Regions from separate parts of the Homo sapiens genome. Here regions 2 and 3 are each linked to region 1. The links are contacts of gene promoters, found by promoter capture Hi-C in blood cells and fetal thymus (Javierre and others, 2016). All regions are on one chromosome and are shown on one strand. Each heading gives the region's core, a stretch centred on a gene start or on the middle of the fragment in contact. The rest is flanking DNA. Distances are from core to core; before and after follow the strand shown. Region 1 holds the start of IK (IK cytokine). Region 2 overlaps DIAPH1 (diaphanous related formin 1). Region 3 overlaps DIAPH1 (diaphanous related formin 1).

The links. Contacts are between HindIII fragments. The CHiCAGO score rates a contact against its expected background, and 5 or more counts as called.
Region 2: a contact is called between a fragment that was not itself captured here and the fragment with the promoter of IK in region 1, in 2 of 17 cell types (M0 macrophages and erythroblasts). The highest score is 6.0, in M0 macrophages.
Region 3: a fragment that was not itself captured here is called in contact with the fragment with the promoter of IK in region 1 in 1 of 17 cell types (M0 macrophages); the score reaches 7.6 in M0 macrophages.

What each region holds. Positions count from the first base shown.
Region 1 is chr5:140,645,989-140,649,738 of GRCh38, reverse strand. It overlaps IK (IK cytokine), which reads right to left and starts at 1,910. Exons shown (of 20, transcript NM_006083.4): 1 at 1,815-1,910; 2 at 1,202-1,268. The coding sequence starts at 1,830. It overlaps NDUFA2 (NADH:ubiquinone oxidoreductase subunit A2), which reads left to right and starts at 2,109. Exons shown (of 3, transcript NM_002488.5): 1 at 2,109-2,256; 2 at 2,377-2,483. The coding sequence starts at 2,156. It overlaps MIR3655 (microRNA 3655), which reads right to left and starts at 1,895; the gene lies at 1,813-1,895. It also overlaps a transcript of TMCO6 not described here. RefSeq lists enhancers at 1,836-2,371, 2,112-2,531. The HindIII fragment of the contact is 8,030 bases long and covers 1-2,042 here.
Region 2 is chr5:141,576,667-141,580,508 of GRCh38, reverse strand. It overlaps DIAPH1 (diaphanous related formin 1), which reads left to right. Exons shown (of 28, transcript NM_005219.5): 9 at 1,313-1,421; 10 at 1,884-1,994; 11 at 2,166-2,284; 12 at 2,918-3,034; 13 at 3,638-3,753. Among named protein-coding and RNA genes, the nearest start is that of DIAPH1-AS1, 20 kb to the right of the region's middle. The HindIII fragment of the contact is 661 bases long and covers 2,105-2,765 here.
Region 3 is chr5:141,601,293-141,605,235 of GRCh38, reverse strand. The region is part of intron 1 of DIAPH1 (diaphanous related formin 1); the gene reads left to right. Among named protein-coding and RNA genes, the nearest start is that of DIAPH1, 16 kb to the left of the region's middle. The HindIII fragment of the contact is 1,662 bases long and covers 1,009-2,670 here.

The sequences.
Region 1 (3,750 bases), core at 661-3,160:
CAACATAGCGAAACCCTGTCTCTACTAATACAAAAATTAGCCAAGCATGGTGGGGCATGCCTGTAATCCCAGCTACTGGGGAAACTGAGGCAGAAGAATTGCTTGAGCCCAGGAGGCAAAGGTTGCTGTGAGCAGAAATAATGCCATTGAACTCCAGCCTGGGCAACGGGAGGAAAAGATATGCCAAAAAAGGTAACTGTGGTTACTTCTAAGAAAAGGACTGAGGCTGGGCACGGTGGCTCACGCCTGTAATGCCAGCACTTTAGGAGGCTGAGGCGGGTGGATCACTTCAGGCCAGGAGTTCAAGACCAGCCTGACGAACACAGTGAAACCCTGTCTCTACTAAAAATACAAAAAAAAAAATCAGTCGTGCATGGTGGCACATGCCTGTAGTCCCAGCTACTTGGGAGGCTGAGGCAGGAGAACCGCTTGAACTCAGGAGGCAGAGGTTGCAGTGAGCCAAGATTGCATCACTGCACTCCAGCCTGGGTAACAGTGAGACTCCGTCTCAAAAAAAAAAAAAAAGAAAGAAAAGAAAAGAAAAGAAAAAAAAAAAGAAATGGACTGGAATTGGGGATGTTATCAAAGATGATTTTATCGGGGGCCAGGCACGGTGGCTCACGCCTGTACTCCCACCACTTTGGGAGGCAGAGGCGGGTGGATCACCTGAAGTCGGGATTTCAAGACCAGCCTGATCAACATGGAGAAACCCCATCTCTACTAAAAATACAAAATTAGCCGGGCGTAGTGGAACATGCCTGTAATCCCAGCTACTCGGAAGGCTGAGGCAGGAGAATTGCTTGAACCCGGGAGGCGGAGGTTGTGGTGAGCCGAGATCGCACCACTGCATTCCAGCCTGAGCAACAAGAGCGAAACTCAGTCTCAAAAAAAATAAAAAGATGATTTTACCCTTATTTCCTATGTTTTAATTTGCTATTGGAAGAAGTAATTCCTATATAATGTGTAATTACACAACACGTATAAAAAAAAAAAAAAACTTAACACCTTTCCTGCAGGAATTTCCCTTCTAATACCCTTATGCACTTGGCCTGATCCAGTTAAGGCTCACAGAGATAAAGGGCCAGCGGGTATAATTTTTTACCATCCTTGATGACAAGACATTCAGAATTCTTTCACCATCACCACCACTTTTCTATTCATTGCCCAACTCATTTCCATGGTCCTAGCACAAAATACTCACTGGTGGAAGGAGTGAGGATCATCCACATCGTGGCCATCGGGGGCCAAAGGGTTGGAGAACGGCTCACCTGACAAAAAAAATTGACGTTAATTTAATCAGTCTCTTACGTGTCAGATCCTATGCAAAAATTTGAGATATAGTAGTGAACAATACAGAACAAAAGTTAGAACAGCGACAGTGTCAACACAATGTAATAAGTGCTGAAATAGGAAACTACAAGAAGCTGTGGGAGCACAAAGCAGAGGACCCTAATCCTGCGCTGGAGGATCAGAGAAGACTTCCGGAAGATCACGTCTAAAATACTACGTAAAAGATAAATACGCGCAACCCAGGATTAAGTATGGGGACAGGACTGGGGGAAAGCGATCCACGCACAAAAGCCGCCCATCATCACTTGGAGTAGGAGTGAGGACTGGGGACGGAGTTTGGAGCTGTCGGCCTCACTTAGGACCCTGTGGCTTCTCCGGGCTCAAGCGTCACACATACATACATACACACACACACACACACACACACACACACACACACACCCGGCTTAAGCTCAGAAGCTACAATAATGCGCCAAGTGCCCCAAGTGCCATGGGGAAGAAATAACGGATGGCCTGAGCCTTACTATCTCGCTCCGGCATTTTGTTATCGTTCTTTCGCTGTCACCAACAATCGAGTCTCCAACAGCAACACCGCAGCGACAAGCTCTTTCCCACAGTGCACCTCAGAATCAACCCACACTGCTTTGCGTTCGCAGCCTTTCCGCTTCCTGTTTTTCCCTCCGACCAACCCCGAGCGCAAAGAAATTGACCTCGCAGCGGTCCTACAATACTTTTATATCATTGGCCAAGCTTTACCCCGCCCCTGCCTCATGCAGCCTATGGGCTAGGCTTTAGGGTCCGCGGTTGGTCAGACCGGAGCACTTGGCCTGAAGACCTGGAATTGGCGACTTCGATATTAACAAGGATGGCGGCGGCCGCAGCAAGTCGAGGAGTCGGGGCAAAGCTGGGCCTGCGTGAGATTCGCATCCACTTATGTCAGCGCTCGCCCGGCAGCCAGGGCGTCAGGTGAGGCGCGGCGTGGTGAGGCGGGCGGGCTTCGGGACGCCAGGGTCACGACCTCGACCTCCCTGAAGTTGAGGGAAGCCCCCGCCCACAGCACGCGCGGCGCTCTCTCCGGCCCCGCAGGGACTTCATTGAGAAACGCTACGTGGAGCTGAAGAAGGCGAATCCCGACCTACCCATCCTAATCCGCGAATGCTCCGATGTGCAGCCCAAGCTCTGGGCCCGCTACGGTGAGTGCGGGACGCCAGGGGTCTGGGGCTCCGGTAGGGGAACAAGGGTTTGAGAAGAGAAGGGACCGCCCAAGGTCGTGCAGAAACCCGTGGAGAAACTAGAACTCGGACTTTAGCCTTGCTGTTGATCTTGTTTCCATGAAGAAATTTATATTCGCAGGGTTATATGATGCGTTGTATTCCGGGCAACATAAGTATGCAGGCTGACCGAATCCTGCGTAGGGACCAGGAGCTGACGTTTTTGTAGTTAAGAATGGGCTTCAGACAGGAGAGAAGTTAGTCAATATAGTTTCTCCAAATAACGTGTAGCCAGTGTCAGTCCAGGTAGTGTGTGAGAATCTCAGTAATTTTGCACATAGAGCTGGGCCCTGTGCTGAGTGCTTCCCTGCCTAACTCATTTAATCTTCATTAGTTAGGAGGAAGCGTGTTCTTCTTTTCTCACTGTAGAGATTAGAAAACGGAATCAAAACTTTGTTTTGCACTATTGTTAAACTCTAGCTGCAACTTTAGATGCAGCTAGAGTTTAACAGGATTGAGCCTTTACATTTATTCCCCTTCCTAGAATGCACTTACCCCTCTAAGACTGGCATGGCAATGTATTGCAAAATGAAATTTTCCTATCATGTTGCCTAACACATTGTAGGTATGCAATAAATGTTTATACATACTGAATAACAGGATTTTAATCACAGCTTTTAACTATATGGTGCCCTGGGAATGACGGGAGGAGGTGGAGGAGAGTGACCACCTTAAGCAGATTGGTTCTCAGAGTAGATATCTGTGAGACACAGTAGACATTAGACATGCACTAATAATTGGAGAAGGAAAAAAGCTTCTCCTTCCAAAAGCCAGTAGACTACAGGAGGAGATAGACACGAGTAACTTTAGTGTATTGTGCTGGGTATTATGTTAGATAGCCTATGGGAGCCTAGAGAATGGGTACCCAGCTGGGTGCGGTGGTTCACGCCTGTAATCCCAGCACTTTGGGAGGCTGAAGCAGGTGGATCACCTGAGGTCAGGAGTTCAAGACCAGCCTGGCCAACATGGTAAAACCCCGTCTCTACTAAACATACAAAAATTAGCCGGGTGTGGTGGCGGGCACCTGTAATCCCAGCTACTCAGGAGGCTGAGGCAGGAGAATTGCTTGAACCCAGGAGGTGGAGGTTGCAGTGAGTGGAGATCGTGCCACCACACTCCAGCCTGGGTGACAGAGCGAGACTCCGTCTCAAAAAAAAAAAAAAAAAAAGAGAGAGAATGGGCTCCCAGC
Region 2 (3,842 bases), core at 1,186-3,685, 930 kb before region 1:
CCATTAATATCTGTATTGTCTAGGATGAGGGTTTCTTTTTACTATTCTTTTTTTTTTTAATTCAGAAGTGGCACAATGTTATTTTTAAAACTCAAACGATATAGAAGTATATAAAGTAAAATTTAACTGCCTCATCCCTTTGCCAAATCCTATTCTGCAAAGAGAATGACTGTTAATGGCATGGTATAGTCTCATAGAACGTTTCCTAAGCATAGACAAACATATTGCGTTCCCTTGATTCTAGACATCTGCCACCGCAAAAGATAGTATCTTAAGAGCTGAGGAATGACACTTATGCCTATAAAACTAACTGCATATATAGGATAGATTTTTATTATTGAAGAGGGATTTGGTTTAACCAAAGCTAAATCATTCTTTTCAACCTGTTTCTTTTTAATAGTAGATCTTGGACATTTCTTCTATGTCGGTACTTACAGATCTACCTTATTATCTTTAGTAGCTATTTAGTATTCCATATACATGTATGTATGGCCTATAATTTATTTAACAATTCCCCTGTTGCTGGACTTACAGATTTTTTTTTTTTCCTTTTTTTTTTTTGAGACGGAGGCTCGCTCTGTTCCCCAGGCTGGAGTGCAGTGGCGCGATCTCGGCCCACTGCAAACTCCTCCTCCCAGGTTCAAGCGATTCTCCTTCCTCAGCCTCCCGAGTAGCTGGGACTACAGGAGTCCGCCACCACGCCTGGCTAATTTTTGTATTTTTAGTAGAGATGGGGTTTCTCCCTATTGGCCAGGCTGGTCTCGAACTCCTGACCTTGTGATCCGCCCGCCTCGGCCTCCCAAAGTGCTAGGATTACAAGCGTGAGCCACTGCGCCCAGCCAACTTACAGATATTTTTTAAAGCAGATTTCACTATCTGTTCTAGGTGATCATTTTTACAAATGATACTGCAGTGAACATCCTTGTGCATATCTTCTTTCACATTTATGCCCATATGTTGGATACATTTCTAGAAGTAGACTATATGTTACATGCATGAGAAATTGATTAGTACTGTTAAATGCCCCTCCAAAAGTTGTATCAATTTATACTTCATTGAATAGGGGACTTGATTTGGTATTTATGGACAGGAGCCTAGGGATGGATTGTAGGGAATGCATTTCCCTGAAGAGATGGTCCTTAGCTTTCAGCAGTTTCTGGAAACTGAGTGGTGAGAATAATAATGTGAGAAATCCGGAACACTGATAATGTCCTGTTTCCTAATCGGTCTGTGCCCCTGTGTAATTTACTCATTATACGTGTCCGTGTCACAGTACCTGGAAAGTTCTCTCCGTTTCCTTTCTCTTGGGCAGGAATGAAAGGGTTTTGGAGGCAATGACAGAAAGAGCTGAGATGGATGAAGTGGAACGTTTCCAGCCGCTGCTGGATGGATTAAAAAGTGGAACCACTATTGCACTGAAGGCATGTATATCCCCTGAAACTGGGCCCAAGAATAGAATTCAAGATGGACAGACTTAAATTCATTTGACCTTTTAATAAAATACATGGAGTGCCTCCCAACTATATATTTTACATTTCAGAATCTGTTATGAAGGGAAAATGATTAACCTTCTTTCTAAGAAGGTAAAGAATGAACTGTTTTCCTCATTATGAGATGGAAAAAGGCATGATATCTATTTACAATCTAGGAAAACCAAGACCTACAATAACATATACTCTCAAATCCTTGAAACCATTTAGAGTTTAGGCTCTCCGGATCTGTACTCAAACCAGGTCTCATTGCTATAGTAGAAAAGTCATCTTTAGAGTTTTTGTATTGTATCTTTCAGGTTGTATTGGGGACCTAAGAATGCATGTAAAGAAAATGGATTCTTGATCTCCAGGAGTTAGCATTGACATAGCTGCTGAATTTTCTTATTTTAGGTTGGATGCCTACAGCTGATCAATGCTCTCATCACACCAGCGGAGGAACTTGACTTCCGAGTTCACATCAGAAGTGAACTGATGCGTTTGGGGCTACATCAGGTGTTGCAGGTAAGATATTACACTTCATTAGAAAGGCTAGACTGGTTCCTTCTTGCTCTACAGCCCCAATAATCCCGGGGATAATTCTGGTTTTCAATTAAAAACCAGGTTGAAAAGCTTAGGTTTCTAACCACAGAGGATACTTTTGGGTTCCCTGACTTCTACTTTTGTTGTTGACAGGACCTTCGAGAGATTGAAAATGAAGATATGAGAGTGCAACTAAATGTGTTTGATGAACAAGGGGAAGAGGATTCCTATGACCTGAAGGGACGGCTGGATGACATTCGCATGGAGATGGAATATCCTTTTGCTGACTAGGTTCAAGGCAGATGAGACATTCATTGTATTTAGTTCCCTGATCCCTGTGTGGAATGGTTTGGGAGATGATGACTCAGAACAGAGCATCAGGCTTATGTGTCTTCTCATTAAATAAGGCAGGTGTATTTTTATTGCGCTGGCTTTACTTAGCTTATCATAGATCAGGGAAGTCAGTAAAGGTGATCTGAGGGTTGTTGAGCATGGAAGCCATCAAAATCAGTGTAAACTTCCTAGAATGTGATAGCTTAGCTTACTAAGATGTAGAACTGGCTTTTAGAGATGTTTGGACTGACAGAGGGAGTAATTTAGTTACCTGTTAATATTTTCAGTAAGTGACTTTGAGGCAGTTACCTCTTATTTTCTGTCTACTGCCTGATCTTCAAGCCAAGTACTTACTAGGAATCCTCTGTGTGTATAGTACCACCCAATTCACTGGTCCCTTAAAGGACGTTTTAGAAAGCTTAAAGTTTCTGGTGATGTTTACAGGAAGAACAGCCAGTAGAATGGAAGTGGTGTCTTGCTACTTTTCCCTAGCTTTTTCAAGAGTTAAATAAGCCACCTGTCAAACATAATTTCTGCATATTTGCTTTCCTTAGCCTATTTCCCTTTTCCACTGACTTTAATGAAGTCTTTCAGATTCTCTTAAACACAGTGAAGGATTCAAAGGCAGAGCCACACTTCCTTTCCATCCTGCAGCACTTACTCTTGGTCCGAAATGACTATGAGGCCAGGTAAGATGCTGTGCTTATGAGAAGTTTTGAATTTGAGCCTAAGTGGAGAGAGTGAATTCCTTAAATTCAAAGATTGTTCTGTAAAAGGAAAATGTAAAGACAAAGACCCAAGATTAGGGTTCATTAGTCACCGATATAAAGGAAGTTGTCTTATTTCTTTAATCCAACTCAAAGGCATCCCTATGGCAGAGGTCAGAGTGTATAAGGTGAAATGCCGTTCTGTTTTTGGAGGGGAGTAGGTAAATAGGATGAAGATGTTAGCAAACAGAAGTGGCAATTTAAAATTCTTTCTAGTTTCCTGGAAGTATAGATTTAGCAATAGCACTATCCATCACAGGAAGGATCAAACGCAAATTTTTAGATGGGAAAGTATTGGCACTAGGAGCGGATGGCAAGAAGTTTTGATTATTTGAAGTAGATAGGGTAGGGTAGCTGATGTGGAAAAAGGAGTTTTCTTAGCATGGCAGCAATACTTGTGTTAACTTTACAAAAGTTTTTCCAGGTCTCTCAGTTGTCAGAGCAATTACGTTTTCTTGGTCCTGAATACTTCTGAAAATTATATTTTGATTTTCCTTTGATGACCCTGTTTTTATTCTCTTGTAGACCTCAGTACTATAAGTTGATTGAAGAATGTATTTCCCAGATAGTTCTGCACAAGAACGGGGCTGATCCTGACTTCAAGTGCCGGCACCTCCAGATTGAGATTGAGGGATTAATTGGTAAGCATACTCTTCTATCTGGCTCCTCCAAGTATTGCTTCTTCCTTTCATTTTGCATCTTGTTTCAGTGAAAATGTCAGAGAAGATAC
Region 3 (3,943 bases), core at 590-3,089, 960 kb before region 1:
AATCTTTGAAAATTGCCACCTTAATTTGAAATGGAAATGTATGTGTATTCTAAAAGTGATAGTTTTTTTCTAAGAAAATACAAATGTATATAAAAAGAGTAAAACAGTCCCATACTTTGTTTTTCAGAAATTAATTTTTTTTAATGGTTAGAACCAAAGAGAACAGTACATGATATATGGAAGTTTCTTTAGATCCTAAGTACTTTGGCATGAAATTCTGTGTGTGTTTGTGTTAGAACATAGTTCAACACAAGTACAATTGCTAGAAGTATCAGAACAACCTTATTTTAACACTTATATTTCTGGTGGTAGAGAAATAATAAGATTTCATCTTCATGCTCATCTCCCCTCCTCCCTAAGATTTTTTCAAAATCTTATTCTGAATGTGTACCGGGCCAAAAAATATTTTCTGTGGTTTCGTAGGATCAAGTCTGGCTTATTGAGTAGTAGTATAATTTTTGGATTAGTTAAGCGGTTGTCAGTAGGGGTAGGATTATTTCTGGGTATTCAGGAGTGGTGTGAGGATACAAAAAAGAGATTATTTAGAAATGAAAGGACTTTAGGAATGGGATTTAAAACAAGGTGTCCTCATACTTGGTGCCTGTATGTAGAAGCGGTAGCAGTTGCAGAAACTTCCTGCTGTCTGCTAGGCTTTGGGTGTGTCACACACATGCCCACCCTTGAGGAAGAGTAGATGTCCTGCTACTCACATCATAACATGGGAGGAGAAGACAGTTGCTACGGCGATTGGGAAACAGCATTCCTGAGTCACTGACTATTTCTAAATGAATGGACAACACCCCTTTTTTTAAAGGAGTGATCATAGTCTTCTCTAAGCTTAGGCAGCAGAGGGAGAGGCCTAGTAAGAAAGGAAGAGCAAGTATCAATATTTGAAGCTTGAGAAATATGTTGAAATTTTGGAAAAATTGGTTAACATTATGTTTTGTTTCCTGTATATGTATTCAAAAGTTGTATTGGAACCTTAGAATGTTTGAAAGGAAGGAAGCTTTGCTTACTGTTCTGTCACCAAATGACAGACTATGCATGCTGGCTTTCACCTTCTGAACAGCAGAAGATACCGGTGTGCCTGCTACACCTTGTGATACTTGATAGGAAAGTAGGACTTCCAGACTCTGAGCACTTTCTCTGTTGGCAGCTTGTTTGCCCAAACCATGTGTGCTTTATAGTGCAAGGACTGGCAGTTTGTATGGATGGACTTGGAGGAATGCAGCATCCTCAGCCCGGTTTCTACCTGTTCTGCTGTGCTGGAATAGTGATACCAGCGTGGCCTTTCCTCCTTCCCTCTGGGCTATCAACTACCTAGGATGCCGGCTGCCAGTTGCAGGGCTTTAGGATGAGCTGAGCTGTAGGCAAAAAGTTACTTTTTCCCTTTCCCCAAGGTACTTGCCTTCTTGAACTATTAGAGAAGTGATACTTTGGACCTGTTAGAGGATCCAATTCTAATATTAAGATAGTTTTCCCCTCATTTTAATTATAATTGGGAAATAAGGTTTATTGGAAAGCAGACTCACCAACAGTTTTAGACAGTTGTGCAGGACATTAAGTTAGTTGCTTTACATTTATAAGTAAATTATTTCAAATTTATAAGCAAATTATTGAAATACAGAATGGACTACAGTTACTACTGTTCTTTATACGGCATTTCTAACTTGTGCTTGACACTGGCCACTGCCTAGAATCTTTCATTGTTCCCGGGTGGGGTTAGGAAAAAGATGCTGATTTTGGAAGGCAGGGGTAGATTGATAGAACTCTTTTAATTAGGAATAAAAGATATTGGACTGTCTTTTACTATGTTTCCTTTGTTGGCTGTTGTATGAATTCTAACAAGTTTATTATTTATTTATGTTTTCTCAGCTTTATTGAGGTATAATTGACATACAAATTGTTTATGGTATACAACATGATGTTTTGATATATGTATACATTGTGGAACTAATGAGTTTAACTCTCCAGTGCTTAGTTTAGCTGTGGGGCTGCTGAGGCACTCTGAACCAAATGGAGGAGCTGCTACAGTCTTACCTAATCCTTCAGCACTTTTTCCTCAGTGGTCATGGAGAACATGAGCCTATCATTTCCATTTCTGGGGACTGCTAGGTAATCTTCAGCCTTCTTTCCCTTAAACACATTTAGCTTTTCTAGGTTTATAGTTTATATTTTTAAATTCCTGGTCATTTTGTGCCCCTCTTCTAGACTTCCTTTCCTCTGAGGTACCCTTTTTCTTTCCTTTATTTTCTTTTTGAAGTGGGTACTCCAACTCTACACAACGCCTGTGTAGGCTGCAGGCACCAATAAGTGGTGATGTCAGAATCTAGTTTGTTTCTCTGTAAATGCTAGATGAAATGTTGATTCAATTGCTGTTGTCTTTGGGCCATTCCTTGAAAATGGAAGGGAAAGTTCTTCTGTGCATTTAAAGTTGTCCATTATTTCATTTTCTTTAGTTCTGACTGACTTCTGTTTAAGGAGTGGGAATTGAAGAAGGGAAACTAGCCAGTTTCAGTGGTTCCATCATATATTATTTAACTTTTACAAAGTACTTTGCAAAACAAAGTGCTTTATATCTGTTTTATTATTTATTCTTCATACTAGTCCTCTGAGACAACAGAACCCTAGAGATAGGAAGACTGAAACTGTGGTCGATTTTTAAAAGCTTACCCTGACTTTACATTCCTTTAGTGGAAATGTGATAAATTTTGTGGCAAAGGCCAGGCGTGGTGGCTCACGCTTGTAATCCCAGCACTTTGGGAGGCCAAGGCAGGTGGATCACGAGGTCAGGAGTTCAAGACCATCCTGGCTAATACGGTGAAACCCCGTCTCTACTAAATATACAAAAAATTAGCCGAGTGAGGTGATGGGCGCCTGTAGTTCCAGCTACTCGGGAGGCTGAGACAGGAGAATGGTCTGAACGCAGGGGCGTAGCTTGCAGTGAGCCAAGATTGCGCCACTGCACTCCAGCATAGGCAACAGAGTGAGACTTCGTCTCAAAAAAAAAAATTTTTTTTTGTGGCAAAGCTAGATCAGGCCTCAATGGTAACTGAATTCAAGATCCTATTATGACCCTCTGTTGCCTCAGTACCCTAAGGAACTGTGTCAATCCTGAATAAAGAAATTAATCAGAGCTGGACCCTTATCTCTCTGTTCTGCATGATTCTAAGTGACATATGCCTTACCTTACCTGTTCTTTCTGGGTAGGTAGATTAGGATATGAAAGGAAATTATTTTTGGCTGTAGTGATACTTATTTCCCATTTTACCCATAGGTAGACTTTGTCATTATTGAGGGCTTATTGTCCTGTGGGCTCCAGTCAAGGTTCCTTGGTCTCATTCATAAGGAAAGACATTACTCTTGAAGGTTTGATTTACTGAGCTATTCGTAACAATCATAGTGTACTGTCATATACCTTGAATTGAAACTTTTCCTTACTTTTCTCAATTTGAATAGAGTAATGAAAGAATAAATATACTGTTTCGGATGATGCTCCTAAACCTGTAGTGATGCTAATTTTAAAATTTATTTATTAAAATGTGGGCCACATCAGTTGAATAAGACATGATTTTGCCCTCATGCAATTTAGTCTGGTTCACAGAAAAAGTTACAACAAATGATCTGTTAAGAAGGTTCTAATATAGTCCCGGTGCGGTGGCTCACGCCTGTCATCCCAGCACTTTGGGAGGCTGAGGCAGATGGATCGCTTGAGGTCAGGAATTCAAAATCAGCCTGACCAATATGGCGAAACCCTTTCTCTACTAAAAAAATAGAAAAGTTAGCCAGATATAGTGGTGTGCAACTGTAATCCCAGCTACTCGGGAGGCTGAGGCAGGAGATCACTTGAACCTAGAAGGCGGAGGTTGCAGTGAGCCAAGATCACACCGCACGTTAGCCTGGGTGACAGAGTGATACTTCATCTCAAAAAAGAGGGAGTAGT